Regions from separate parts of the Homo sapiens genome. Here all the other regions are linked to region 4. The links are contacts of gene promoters, found by promoter capture Hi-C in human tissues and cell types (Jung and others, 2019). All regions are on one chromosome and are shown on one strand. Each heading gives the region's core, a stretch centred on a gene start or on the middle of the fragment in contact. The rest is flanking DNA. Distances are from core to core; before and after follow the strand shown.

Region 1 (3,385 bases), core at 820-3,319, 160 kb after region 4:
CCATTTGGCTCTGAGCAGCCCACACCTTGGTCTTGCTCAGCCCAGGCTTGGGCCAATGAAGGCCCTTAATTAATAGATCATCTGTTACATCTGTTTAATCCTTTTATGGCCCATTTTGCCTGCCAGAGACCTTGAAGAAAGACATTGGAGAGATAAAGGGGTAACAGCTATGCTCTGCTAAGTCTCCTTCCTCCTCTGCCCCAAAGCCAGGGGCAGCCTTGGAACTTGGCAGGGGTGGGGCAGGGTGCACTGAAGGAACCTACAAGTTGTCAGGAATTGGAATTCCAGGAGTCCTAGGTCTCCTGATTATTTGGTGGCCCATTTCTTTATTTCCTTCTTCCTTCCTTCCTTCCTTCCTTCCTTCCTTCCTTCCTTCCTTCCCTCCCTTCCTTCCTTTCTCTTTCTCCCTCTTTCTCTTTCTCCTCTCTCTCTGTCTCTCTTACTTTTATTTCTCTCTCCTTCTCTTTTTTTCTTTCTTTTTGAGATAGTGTCTCACTCCCGTTGCCCAGGCCAGAGTGCAGTGGCAGGATCACAGCTCACTGCAGCCTCCACTCAGGTGATCCTTCCACTTCAGCCTCCTGAGTAGCTGGGACCATAGGCATGCACCACCACACCAGGCTATTTTTATTTTTAAGATTTTTAAATTTTTAGTAGAGACAGTTTTGTCATGTTGCCTAGGCTGGTCTCCAACTCCTAGGCTCCAGTGATTCACCAGCCTCATCTTTCCAAAGTGCTGGGATTACTACTGTGCCCGGTCTGTGGCCCATTTCTAAGGGTCATTTCCCTGAGATCTAAATGGAGGATGGAGTGCAGGGAGAAGGAATTTGATACCTCACCTGAAGGTGGATTCAAGGTCTTGATGGACAGGTTCAGGGAGAGAGGAGGAAAGGTGAATTCACCTAAAGCAGAGGCATATTGTGTGGGTCAGGGGAGAGGGGAGCCAAGGAGACTGATTCTCTGAATGCTCAGACCTGTTTTCCACAAAGTATCTAGGACCCACCCCGTTTAGAGCAGAACATTTTTGCTTAGAGAATAAAACCATTGAGGCTCCTAAAGTATCTGAAATTAAGTCCTCCTCCTTGATCTCTGTCTCCTAAACAGATACACATAGCCCTTCCCTCTTTAGGGTGGAGGGACCTCAGTGCTTTGAAAAGGAAAGAACACTGACCCAGAATTGAGGAAACAAAGAGGGGACCTGTCCTCTGGCAGGCTCATTGGAGCAGGGGGAATTCCCTCGGGAGTCACCATACCAGGCATTGTCCCTTAGATTAGCCCTCAAGGACAGAGGGGACAGCTTCTCTGGAAAGCAAGGGCTCTAGAGGAAAACGTGCAAGGAGACCTGGACATGTGTGATTACCTAAACTGTGACGGGGGAAGGTGAAAGGCCAGAGACAGGAGGATATTTTGCGGGGAGTGGGAGCCCTAGGCAATCTCCCCAGGTTTCCTTAGCGGGGAGAAGTTCTCCGTGCTCTCCTCTCCTGAGCATGCCTGTGTGTGTTGGATGTTGCTGACTGTCATTTCACTTATCTGTGACACACAAGTCTTTCATCTTGTTTGGGTGGCATGAAGCAAGGAGAGTTTCAATGATCCAAGCATCATATTCTCACAGCCTCCTACATCTGGCTCAAGGGTAAAATCAATAAATTGTTTTATGATCCCTTTCTACTGATGAAAAAGCTGCAGCTAAGGAAGGGATGGTGACTTGCCTAAGCTACTGGGCCAGTGGGGCTGGAGCCAGGCCTGCAGCCCAGACATTTGGAGCCCCAGACCAGGTTTCTTTCCACTCCAACAGCTATTTTCTCTGCTCTCCTGTTAGGTTGAGATTTCTGCTCCTGCCAAGCCCATCCTACAGAACGGGGGAATGGACCCTGCAGCAGATTTACAGTAGGTACCCAACAATTATCCCAGATATCAGATTTGGTTTTTTTTTTGTTTGTTTGTTTTTTGAGATGGGTTCTCACTCTGTTGTCCAGGCTGGAGTGCGGTGGGGTGATCACAGCTTATGCAGCCTCAAACTTCTGGGCTCAAGTGATCCACCCGCTTCAGCCTCCTGAGTAGCTGCGACTACAGGTGCATGCTACCACACCAGACTAATTTTAAAATTTTCTGTAGAGATAGGGCCTGGCTATCTTGCCTAGGCTGGCTCAAGCAATTCTCCCACCTTAGCCTCCTAAAGTGCTAGGATTACAGGTGTGAACCACTCCACCTGGTCCTAGATGTCAGATTTGTAAGCAGACACGATTAACAGTGGTACTTCGGGGTTTGGGGGAGAAGTGGCACTTCTGTGCACTGGGGACACCTAGGCTCCCAGCCCACAGCAGAAGCCCAAGACTAAAGAGAAATGTTCCTTAGGGAGCGATAGCAGAATGTGGCCCCCTAGACTGTAGGCTCCCTGAAGCTGGAGGCTGAGTCTCTGCAGACTATCTGCTTTGCATGTAGTAGATGCTCAATAATTTATTGGATAAAATAATAGCTACTATTACCAAGCTTTTAGTCTAGCACCAGGTCATAGTGAGTGTCATATGCTGTCTCATTTAATTCTCACAACTGAAATAAGAAAAATAAAAATTCTGGGCCAGGTGCGGTGGCTCACACCTGTTATCCCAGCACTTTGGGAGGCTGAGGTGGGCAGATCACTTGAGGTCAGGAGTTCAAGACCAACCTGGCCAACATGGTGAAACCCTGTCTCTACTGAAAATACAAAAATTAGCCGGGCATGGTGGCTTACGCCTGTAATCCTAGCACTTTGGGAGGCTGAGGCGGGCGGATCACGAGGTCAGGAGATCGAGACCATCCTGGCTAACATGGTGAAACCCCATTTCTACTAAAAATACAAAAAAATTAGCCGGGCATGGTGGTGGGCACCTGTAGTCCCAGCTATTCAGGAGGCTGAGGCAGGAGAATGGCGTGAATCCAGGAGGCGGAGCTTGCAGTGAGCTGAGATGGAGCCACTGCACTCCAGCCTGGGGGACAGAGCGAGACTCCATCTCAAAAAAAAAAAAAAATTAGCTGGGCATGGTGGTGGACACCTGTAATCCCAACTACTCAAGGAAGGAGAATCCCTTGAACCAGGGAGGCAGAGGTTGCAATGAGTGAGATCGAGCCACTGCACTCCAGCCTGGGCAATGGAGCAAGACCCTGTCTCAAAAACAAAAACAAAGAAAGAAAACAAAAACCTGACTTGAAGCTCTCAGACCCAGAAGAAACAAACCTTGTGACATCCTCATGTTGGCTAGAATCTCTGCTGGCCCAAACACCTCTTCTCAGTCTCCTTCCTTATTGGCCCCAGGGCCTTTAAATGTTGACATCCCCAAAGCTTTGGCCTTCCCACCCTATCCATCTTCCCTAGGTGATCTTAGCCATGCTCATACCATCAGACATAGGC
Region 2 (3,502 bases), core at 930-3,429, 200 kb after region 4:
GTATCTGCCATCAAGCCTGGCTGATTTTTTGTATTTTTAGTAGAGACCGGGTTTTGCCAATGTTGGCCAGGCTAGTCACAAACTCCTGACCTCAGGCTAGTCACGAACACCTGCCTCGGCCTCTCAAAGTGCTGAGATTACAGGCGTGAGCCGCCGCGCCCAGACTTTATTTTTATTCATATTTTGAGACACGGTCTTGCCCTATTGCCCAGGCTGGAGTGGAGTGGTGTGAAGACAGCTCACTGTAGCCTTGACCTCCTAGGCTCAAGCGATCTTCCCACCTCAGCCTCTCAAGTAGCTAGAACCACAGGTACACGCCACGATGCCTAGCTAATTATTTTTTCAATTTTGTAGAGATGGGGTCTCGCCATGTTGCCCAGGCTGGTCTTGAACTCCTGGGTTCAAGCAATCCTCCCACCTCGGCCTCCCAAAATACTGGGATTACAGGCATCAGCCACGGCACCCAGCATTCTCCTGTTTCCCATCAACCATATCAGCCCATCAAATCTTTCACAATACAAGAAGGGTGGGTGGGGAGGGGGAAGAGTTTTCCTTTTCCGTCTTACTCCTTTTTCTTCTTTGGATTCCCTATATTTTGGGTGTCGGTAGAAGTCTGAAATGCAAATAAGAATGTCCCACTCTGAAGGCACAGGGAGGGGCTGCTGAATTATTACCCTCTAAATTCTAGCACGTTAGACAGTTCTGGTCTCCTTGCATTCTTGGAGGATGCAAGGACCTGACTGTAATGTGCGGGGGAGACAGTTTGGTCTCTGGGAACCCCCAGTCTGGTGGAGGAACTTAGACTAAAGCAATGGAAGACTGACAGAGCAATATGGTCACAATTGCAAATCCTTCAAAATGCCGGTGCTACAGAGAATAATCAGCATTGTGGCATGACTGTCCAGAAGCAAGTTTTGAACCATTCTGAATAACGGAAGTCCCAGGATCCTTTATTTAAAAAAAAAAAAGTGTAGAGACAGGGTCTTGTTATGTTGTCCAGGCTGGCCTTGAACTGCTGGTCTCAAGCAATTCTTCTGCCTTAGCCTCTCAAGGTGCTGGGATTACAGGCATGAGCCCCTGCACCTGGCCACTCACCCAGGTTTCTTGAAGCAGTATTTTCTCTTCTTTGGGATTAGCCAAGGGCATCTGGAGAAGCAATGAGAACTACCTCCTTTGAGGGGAGAGCGGCCACTTGCACACAGGCTGGGACACCATCTCATAGCTAATAATGACGTTGGTGTGGTCATTTTTCCCAGCTACACAAGCACAAGTCACTTACCACTCACAACCACCCTGTAGGGCGGGTGGCTATGATCACCCCCATTTTCTAAGTGAGGTTCTAAGAAATGAAATCACTGGCAGCTGGCTCACTGATTTGGGGCCAAGCCCAGGTCTTCTGAACGTAAGTCTAGTGGTTATTCTGCTATGCTGCTTGGTCACTTATGAGGCTGGTGTCTAGAGTCATTACTGAGTCTCCAAGTCCCCACTGTCTGCCCCATCCTTGACCCACACAAGTGCCCTGTTCAGTGTTCTGAGGGAAGGCGGAAAGACTCATGCTCAGGACTCAGGCTTCCCAGGCTCCTCATGCTGTTCCTAGGCTTGGTTTGACACCTCTCTTCCCCTATCCTGCCTACCCCTCCCACCCACACCCTCCTAGCCCCAGCTGACTTAGAGGCAGGGAGAGGGAGGCAAGGCCAGAAGGCTTTTGTTTTTCTACGATGGAGAGATGACTGAAATCCCGCCATCTCCCGCAGAAGACAGAGGCAGCTCTGGATTTCCTGTTGCTCTCAACACGGGCCAGATAATTGGAGACAGATTTTGGACTTGGGTTGGGAGGTGAAGTTTGAAATACAGTCGTCAGGCCTCCTGTAAGTTCGTGTGTGTGAGTGCACACTGCTTGGTTGGGGTTTTTTATTAGCTATATGTGTATCTGTGTGTGTGTGCAGATACTTGTATTGGAAATAGTGTATTGTGTCTAGTGTGTGCATGTGTGTTTGTGTGTATTGTATCTAGTGTGTTCATGTGTGTATTGTGTCTAGTGTGTGCATGTGCGTTTGTATGTATTGTGTCTAGTGTGTTCATGTGTGTTTGTGTATTGTGTCTAGTGTGTGCATGTGTGTGTATTGTGTCTAGTGTGTGCATGTGTGTTTGTATGTATTGTGTCTAGTGTGTTCATGTGTGTTTGTGTATTGTGTCTAGTGTGTGCATGTGTTTGTATATGTTGTGTCTAGTGTGTTCATGTGTGTTTGTGTATTGTCTAGTGTGTGCATGTGTGTGTGTACTGTGTCTAGTGTGTTCATGTGTGTTTGTGTATTGTCTAGTGTGTGCATGTGTGTTTGTGTATACCGTGTCTAGTGTGTGCATGTGTGTATGTATTATGTCTAGTGTGTGCATGTGTGTTTGTATTATGTCTAGTGTGTGCATGTGTGTTTGTATGTATTATGTCTAGTGTGTGCATGTGTGTTTGTATGGTGTCTAGTGTGTGCATGTGTGTTTGTATTGTGTCTAGTGTGTTCATGTGTGTTTGTATTGTGTCTAGTGTGCATGTGTGTTTGTGTGTATTGTGTCTAGTGTGTTCATGTGTGTTTGTGTATTGTGTCTAGTGTGTGCATGTGTTTGTGTGTATTGTGTCTAGTGTGTTCACGTGTTTGTATTGTCTAGTGTGTGTGTATTGTGTCTAGTGTGTTCATGTGTGTTTGTGTATTGTCTAGTGTGTGCATGTGTGTGTATTGTGTCTAGTGTGCATGTGTGTGTATTGTGTCTAGTGTGTTCATGTGTGTTTGTATGTATTGTGTCTAGTGTGTGCATGTGTTTGTGTATTGTGTCTAGTGTGTGCATGTGTGTTTGTGTGTATTGTGTCTAGTGTGTGCATGTGTTTGTGTGTATTGTGTCTAGTGTGTTCACATGTGTTTGTATTGTGTCTAGTGTGTGTATTGTGTCTAGTGTTCATGTGTGTTTGTATTGTGTCTAGTGTGTTCATGTGTGTTTGTGTATTGTGTCTAGTGTGTGCATGTGTGTTTGTGTGTATCGTGTCTACTGTGTGCATGTGTTTGTGTGTATTGTGTCTAGTGTGTTCATGTGTGTTTGTGTATTGTGTCTAGTGTGTGCATGTGTGTTTGGTACCTGTGCTCCTTGTACATCTTTAGTGTTTAAGACTCCGCGTGTATGTGTATGTGTGAGAAAGTATGTAAGTGTGTGTCTGGGGCTCTGTGAGTGGCTCCCTTGTTTTGTTTAATTTTTTTTCCTTTGTGAGATTCAGTCTGGCTTGGAGAGTCCCCACCAGTCCTTTCAGGATCTTATTACTCACGACTTGGTGATTAAATGTAATACAATAATTAAGATTTTTTTTTAAAAAGGAAGGAAGGCAGATGGCCTTCGGGGAGATAACATGAGGGGTAGAAAGCAGCCAGAGTGCCTTGAGAGCAGACAGCCAAGGGTGAAGGGGACCTGCAGGGCAGAGGGGCTCTTTTAGGAGGTACAGACAAGGCCCCAGTTTCCCCCC
Region 3 (3,675 bases), core at 1,138-3,637, 180 kb after region 4:
AAAAAAAAAAAAAAAAACAAACAAAGAAAAGAAAAAGAAAAATGAGGCCCAGAGGCCAGAGAGACACTGCCTGAAGCTCACAGGTAATTGCAGAATTGGAGCTCAAACCCAGCTTTTAGTCCTTATGCTTTTTTTTAGACTAATTTTTTTAGAGGAAGGTACAAGAGTTCCCATATACCCCTGTCCCTACACATACATAACCTACCTTCCCCATTATCAACATCCCTCACCAGAGGAGTACTTTTTTTTTTTTTTTTTTTTTTGAGATGGAGTCTCGCTCTGTCGCCCAGGCTAGAGTGCAGTGGCACATCTTAGCTCACTGCAACCTCTGCCTCCCTGGTTCAAACGATTCTCCTGCCTCAGCCTCCCAAGTAGCTGGGATTACAGGCATCCACTACCACGCCTAGCTAATTTTTGTATTTTTAGTAGAGATAGGGTTTTACCATATTGGCCAGGGTGGTCACGAACTCCTGACCTCAGATGATCCGTTTGTCTCAGCCTCCCAAAGTGCTGAGATTACAGGCATGAGCTACTACATCCGGCCACCAAAGGAGTACATTTGTTACAATTGATAAACCTACACTGACACATCATTATCAATCAAAGTCCACAGTTTACATTAAGGTTCACTGTTGGTTTACTTTCTTGTTTGTTTGTTTTTGAGACAGGGTCTCTGTCACCCAGGCTACAGTGCAGTGGTACGATCTCGACTCACTGCAGCCTTGACCTCCTGGGCTCAAGGGATCCTCCCACCTCAGCCCCCCAAGTGGCTAGGACTACAGGTGTGTGCCACCACAGCTGACTAATTTTTGTGTGTGTGTGTGTGGTTTTTTTGTTTTGTTTTGGTTTGGTTTTTTTAGTAGAGACAGGGTTTTGCCATATTGCCCAGGCTGGTTTTGAACTCCTGAGCTCGAGTGATCCGCCTGCCTTGGCCTCCCAGAGTGCTAGGATTACAGGTGTGAGCCACCGTGCCTGGACTTGTGTTGTACTTTCTATAATGTATAATGACATATATACAACATTAAAGTATCACACAGACTATTTTCGCTGACCTAAATATCCTCTATGCTCTACCTATTCAACCCTCCCAGCCCCACCAACCCCTAGCAACCACTGATCTTTTTACTGTCTCCACAGTTTTGCCTTTTCTAGAATATCATAGAGTTGGAATCATACTATATGTAGCCTTTTCAGATTGGCTTCTTTGACTTAGTAATATGCATTTCAGGTTCCTCCACGTGTTTTTGAGAGGTGACAGCCTGCTGGCAGCCCTCGCTCACTCTCGGCGCCTCCTCTGCCTGGGCTCCCACTTTGGCGGCACGTGAGGAGCCCTTCAGCCCACCACTGCACTGTGGGAGCCCCTTCCTGGGCTGCCCAAGGCTGGAGCTGGCTCCCTCAGCTTGCGGGGAGGTGTGGAGGGAGAGGCGCGGGCAGGAACTGGGGCTGCACGGGGCGCTTGGGGGCCAGCGCGAGTTCTGGGTGGGCGTGGGCTCGGCGGGCCCCGCACTCGTAGCGGCCAGCCAGCCCGCAAGCCCCGGGCAGTGAGGGGCTTAGCACCTGGGCCAGTAGCTGCTGTGCTGGATTTCTCGCCAGGCCTTAGCTGCCTCCCTGCTGGGCAGGGCTCGGGACCTGCAGCCCACTATGCCTGAGCCTCCACCCCTTCCTCTCCCCCACGCCGTGGGCTCCTGCACGGCCCGAGCCTCCCGGAGAGCGCTGCCCCCTGCTCTAGGGCGCCCAGTCCCATCGATCACCCAAGGGCTGAGGAGTGTGGGTTCACAGCGCGGGACCCGCAGGCAGCTCCACCTGTGGCCCCGATGCGGGATCCACTGGGTGAAGCCAGCTGGGCTCCTGAGTCTAGTGGGGACTTGGGGAGCTTTTATGTCTAGCTGGGGGATTGTGGATACACCAATCAGCACTCTGTATCTAGCTCAAGGTTTGTAAACACACCAATCAGCACGCTGTGTCTAGCTCAGGGTTTGTGAATGCAGCAATGGACACTCTGTGTCTAGCTAATCTAGTGGGGACGTGGAGAACTTTTGTGTCTAGCTCAGGGATTGTAAACGCACCAATCAGCACCCTGTCAAAATGGACCAATCAGCTCTCTGTAAAACAGACCAATCGGCGCTCTGTAAAATGGACCAATCAGCAGGATGTGGGTGGGGCCAGATAGGAGAATAAAAGCAGACTGCCCCGACTCAGCAGTGCAAGCAGACTGCCCCGACTCAGCAGTGGCAATGTACTCGGGTCCTATTTCTCCGGGGGGGGGGGGGGGGGGGGGGTTGGGGGGTGGAGAGAGGAAGCTTTATTCTTTCACTTTTTGGAATAAATTTTGTTGCTGTTTGTTCTTTGGATCTACACTACTTTTATGAGTTGTAACACTCACCGGGAAGGTCTGCAGCTTTGCTCCTGAAGCCAGCGAGACCACGAACCCACCGGGAGGAACGAACAACTCCAGATGCGTCGACTTAAGAGCTGTAACACTCACTGCGAAAGTCTGCAGCTTTACTCCTGAGCTAGTGAGACCACGAACCCACCAGGAGGAAGAAACTCTGAACACATCCGAACGTCAGAAAGAATAAACTCTGGACACGCCGCCTTTAAGAACTGTAACACTTACCGCGAGGGTCTGCGGCTTCATTCTTGAAGTCAGTGAGACCAAGAACCCACCAATTCTGGACACATTTTCGTGGTTTGATAGCACGTTTCCTTTTAGCACTGAATAATGTCTGGCTATTCCACAGTTTTTCAAAGCAGATTAATTATGCCCTGGCTACCAACTTGCTTGAGTTGGGTGGAACAGAAAAACCCCCCCAATCAAATAAGCTACACGCACCAGATGTATTACTTACAGATAGGCAGCAAGGGACAGCGTAGCCTAGGACTCAGCCAGTCCCCCGAGGCTCACAAAAGCTGCCTGGGGTGAATGGAGTCTTGTCAGTGTGTATGTCTTGCTTACCTCACTAGCAAACTGCCCTGGGTTTTGTATCCTAGGGACAACAGGACTTGGTGGGCTAAAATGTTGAAGGACGTCCTATTTCTTTCTTGTTTTCTTTTTTTTTAAAGGATATTCTATTTCTAGGAGGGCCTGGAATAGAGCTCAGGCTGTGCTGTCCAGTCCCTCGTTATCCCAGGATGCTGCATTCCCAGAACAATCTACGGTTATTCTTGAATACTATAAGTGAGAAAGCGGAGAACTGGGTGGCCCAAGGCCACCCGGAGAACTGTCTGGTAAGTTTATTCACCTATCGAAGGGCATCTTCGTTGCTTCTAAGCTTTGGTAATTATAAAGCTGCTGTAAACATCCATGTACAGGTTTTTATGTAGACATAATTTTTTTTTTTTTTGAGACAAAGTCTCGCTCTCTTTCCCCAGGCTGGAGTGCAGTGGCATGATCTAGGTTCACTGCAACTTCCGCCTCTCGGGTTCAAGCGATTGTCCTGCCTCAGCCTCCTGGGTAGCTGGGATTACAGGTGCCTGCCACCACACCCAGCTAATTTTTGTATTTTTAGTAGAGACGGCATTTTACCATGTTGGACAGGCTGGTCTTGAACTCCTGACCTCAGGTGATCCGCCCATCTCGCCTCCCAAAGTGCTGGGATTACAGGCGTGAGCCACCGTGCCCGGCCACCTAGACGTAAATTTTTAACACGTGGGTAAATACCAAGGTGCTTGATT
Region 4 (3,537 bases), core at 304-2,803:
TGGTGGGCACAGTGTCTCTCACAATAGTAGCTCAGGGTACACGCTATGAAGAGGAGGAGCCAAGACTCTAATCTTGGCACTCTTGATTCTGAAGCCTGATCAATACTAATCATTAATGACCTATTGCTTCTTTTCAAATATTTATAATGTTGATGGAGATGAGGGAAATGGAACAGAAATGCAAGGTGCGGGAGGGTAGACAACTTTAGTTCTGCAAATCAATTTAGGACATGTGCTCCTCTCCACATTTCCTTTCTTTTTTTTTTTTTTTTTTTTTTGAGACAGAGTTTCGCTCTCGTTGCCCAGGCTGGAGTGCAATGGCATGATCTCGGCTCACCACAACCTCTGCCTCTCAGGTTCAAACGATTCTCCTGCCTCAGCCTCCCGAGTAGCTGGGATTACAAGCATGCGGCACCACGCCCGGCTAATTTTTTTTTTTTTGAGACGGAGTGTCACTCTGTCACCCAGGCTGGAGTGCAGTGGCATGATCTCAGCTCACTGCAACCTCCACCTCCCGGGTTCAAGTGATTCTCCTACCTCAGCCTCCCGAGTAGCTGGGACTACAGGAGTGTGCCACCACGCTCAGCTAATTTTTGTATTTTTAATAGAGACAGGGTTTCACCATATTGGCCAGGCTGGTCTTGAACTCCTGACCTCATGATCTGCCCACCTCTGCCTCCCAAAGTGCTGGGATTGCAGGTGTGAGCCACTGTGCCTGGTCTCTTTTTTTTTTTTTTTTTTGTATTTTTAGTAGAGACGGGGTTTCTCCATGTTGGTCAGGCTGGTCTCGAATTCTCGACCTCAGGTGATCTGCCCGCCTCGGCCTCCCAAAGTGCTGGGATTACAGGCATGAGCCACCGCGCCCGGCCTCCTCTCTGCATTTCAAGGTGTTGAGGGTGGAGTGGTTCATACAACTGACCCTTGGGGAAAAAATAAAGCATCAACTCTTGTCTTCCCTTTGTTCTTGCTGTAGTTTTCAGTGCCCATCAGCCCACATGTGCCCTGCCCTTATACCTTCACCTGAGCCAGTCCCCTGGACCCCAACATTCTTGACAAGAAATCAACCTGAATAGGCCCCACAAGTCACCTTGCTCAACTGCTATCGCAAATGGGAAACTCGAAGCCCCCAGAAGCAGTGATGGGGAGGGGTCCTGCTCTCTCCCAATACCCCAACTTCCCTTACGGCTCACCTCCCATGGCTGTCCTTGTGGAAGTCCAGTGAAAATCCAAACTGGCTGCCATTGGGGCCTGCATAGAAGGTGAGCTGCACTGGGTCCAGGTTCAAGGCCCAGGCTGGAGGGGCAGCACAAGGTCCCAAGAGCAGCAGCACCCACTCCAGAAGCCAGAGGGCTTGCAGTGGACACAAAGCTCTGGCCATCTTCCTTCTTCCACAACCTCCCAGGCAGGAATGGGCCAGCTCCTCCTCCTTCCCTTCAGATTCCTCCACAGGAAGTCTTTTCTTATCAAACTGGAACCCCAAGTAACTTGCTGAGCAACGGGCAGAGCAAAGGGCTATAGCCCCTGGACTCATGGTGGCTAGAATTGCCAGGAAGTGGGTGAGGCCACCCAGAGGGTGGATGCTCATGGCTGAAAGCCATGACTCCTCCCCTTTCCTGAGAATAGTTTATTACCATGTCCTATTGGTTCTGCCTATCAATGATGTCTCTTGAATCTTTACCCCATCTCTACTACCACCGTGCTAGTCCAAGCCACCATCACTTTCTGCTTGGGATAGCGTGATTGTGAACTGGTCCATACTTGTCTACTCTAGCCTACAGTTCTAATCTCCTCCCTTCCCCCATCTGGCTGTACAGCTGTGGTGCTTTGTGACTTGGCCACAGGTCGGGGAAGGAGAAGGAAGCTGCTGCCCCCGATAAAACCTGAGGCTTCTGTATCTTTTTGGATATGGCATTTACCCACTTCCTCCTTCTAGGACCTTGGGCGGCCTCAACCAGCCATATTGGTGCAGCAGCTTCCTCACTCCTCCTCCGTCTTGAGCCAAGCTTTAGTGTGGCCACAGCAGTGCAGTCAGTGCTGGGGACAGGGTGGTGAATGGACCTTGGTCTAGGTGGCAAGGAGATTGGGGATAAAGTGGAGTTATTCCAGGGAATTTTGACTCACAGTTTCTGAGATTATGCATTAGCTGTTCAGTTGAAGGTAGGCCCTCAATCCTTTTTGGGTGATGGAGCTCTTTAACCATTAAGACTTGATTCTGGTTGGGGGCTTTGCCTAGGGGAGCCTTCCCTGACTCCTCAGGCTGGCCGCGTGGGCTAACACACGTAGGCACAGCATTGAGCACACTGTTTACTCTTGGTCCGTTCACAGGATTGTGTAAATGAGTCCCTTGGGAGCAAGGCTCCTTGCTACAGCCCTAGAGACTACCCAAGAGTCCAATGTGTAGTACGTGTATTGCTGAAAGACTGGATGGAAACACACACTAAGGATGGAAGATGCAAACATAGGGTGACAAAGTGAAGGGATGAGTTTTGAGCAGAAAGGCAAAGTCATTTTCTCTCGGTAAGCGGAAGAGGAGGAGTGCCAAGTCTTACTGGCACTCATGCCTTCCCAAAAAAGCAGGTTCTCAGGAAGATTTAAGAGGTCCGCTAGGGGTAACCATAGCCACATTTTCCTTTTGATTTCTATTTTCTGATCAAACTTAACCATTGCCGTATCCTGCTCAACCACCCTGTACCATTTTGAAGTCCCCTCGTAATTTACTACCTCAGCCTAGAGTTAAGAATCTTATCCTTTATAGGACAGGAAGCTAAAAGCCTGAACTTTGGTCTGGGCCTTCTTCATTGCTGAGTTCCCAGTGTCAAGTACATGGGAGGCGTGTAATTAATGTATTTGCTTGAACGAATACTTAACCCAGTCCTCTACTTACCTTCTATCCTCCCACTGTCCTCAGGTGAGTGATTGCTGTATTACTGGTGTATTCTGTGAGGCCAAATATGAACTTACATTTCACTCAAGTTTTCAATAAGTATTTACTCTGTTCAAGGCACTGTGTTGATAAAGGATACAAAGATAACCATTAGGCCAGGTATAGTGGCTCATGCCTGTAATCCCAGCACTTTGGGAGGCTGAGGCAGGAGGATGGCTTGAGCTCAGGCATTTAAGACCAGCCTAGGCAATACAGTGAGACCTCGTCTCTATTTTAAAATTATAAAAAATAAAATATTTTAAAAACTCCAAAGATAGCCATCAAGGAGACTTAACAAACAGCCCAGAAAGAGTTAAGACATGAACACACATAACTGCAGCAGAGAGACAGTCAAGCATGCCTTGAAAAATACACAGATTATCAAAGTCGTATATCATTGTTACTCATAACAACCCTAGGAAATAAGTACTATTATGCCCATTTTATAAACACAAAACTGTGGCACAAGAGTTTTAGGTAAATTGCCCATGTTTACGCAGCCAACAGATGGCAAAACTAAGATTCAAACATGGGTTGCACTTGAACTCATGTTCAAGTTGCCTTTTGTCAGAGAATGAAAGGGTTTTTAGGCATAGAGAATACATGAGAGCAGC

Evidence for each region. Contacts are between HindIII fragments. The study calls those that stand out against the background at their distance.
Region 1: a fragment that was not itself captured here is called in contact with the fragment with the promoter of ITGA2B in region 4 in 2 of the 25 tissues and cell types used here (lymphoblastoid cells and thymus).
Region 2: a contact is called between a fragment that was not itself captured here and the fragment with the promoter of ITGA2B in region 4, in 1 of the 25 tissues and cell types used here (psoas muscle).
Region 3: a fragment that was not itself captured here is called in contact with the fragment with the promoter of ITGA2B in region 4 in 1 of the 25 tissues and cell types used here (IMR-90 fibroblasts).

Annotation. Positions count from the first base shown.
Region 1 is chr17:44,548,607-44,551,991 of GRCh38, forward strand. No RefSeq gene overlaps it. Among named protein-coding and RNA genes, the nearest start is that of FZD2, 7.2 kb to the right of the region's middle. RefSeq lists an enhancer at 1-4. The HindIII fragment of the contact is 6,889 bases long and covers 1-3,385 here.
Region 2 is chr17:44,588,121-44,591,622 of GRCh38, forward strand. No RefSeq gene overlaps it. Among named protein-coding and RNA genes, the nearest start is that of FZD2, 32 kb to the left of the region's middle. The HindIII fragment of the contact is 5,617 bases long and covers 1-3,502 here.
Region 3 is chr17:44,566,799-44,570,473 of GRCh38, forward strand. No RefSeq gene overlaps it. Among named protein-coding and RNA genes, the nearest start is that of FZD2, 11 kb to the left of the region's middle. RefSeq lists a silencer at 370-570. The HindIII fragment of the contact is 4,266 bases long and covers 255-3,675 here.
Region 4 is chr17:44,388,096-44,391,632 of GRCh38, forward strand. ITGA2B (integrin subunit alpha 2b) reads right to left here and starts at 1,554. Exons shown (of 30, transcript NM_000419.5): 1 at 1,191-1,554. The coding sequence starts at 1,378. RefSeq lists an enhancer at 1,711-1,770. The HindIII fragment of the contact is 17,139 bases long and covers 1-2,814 here.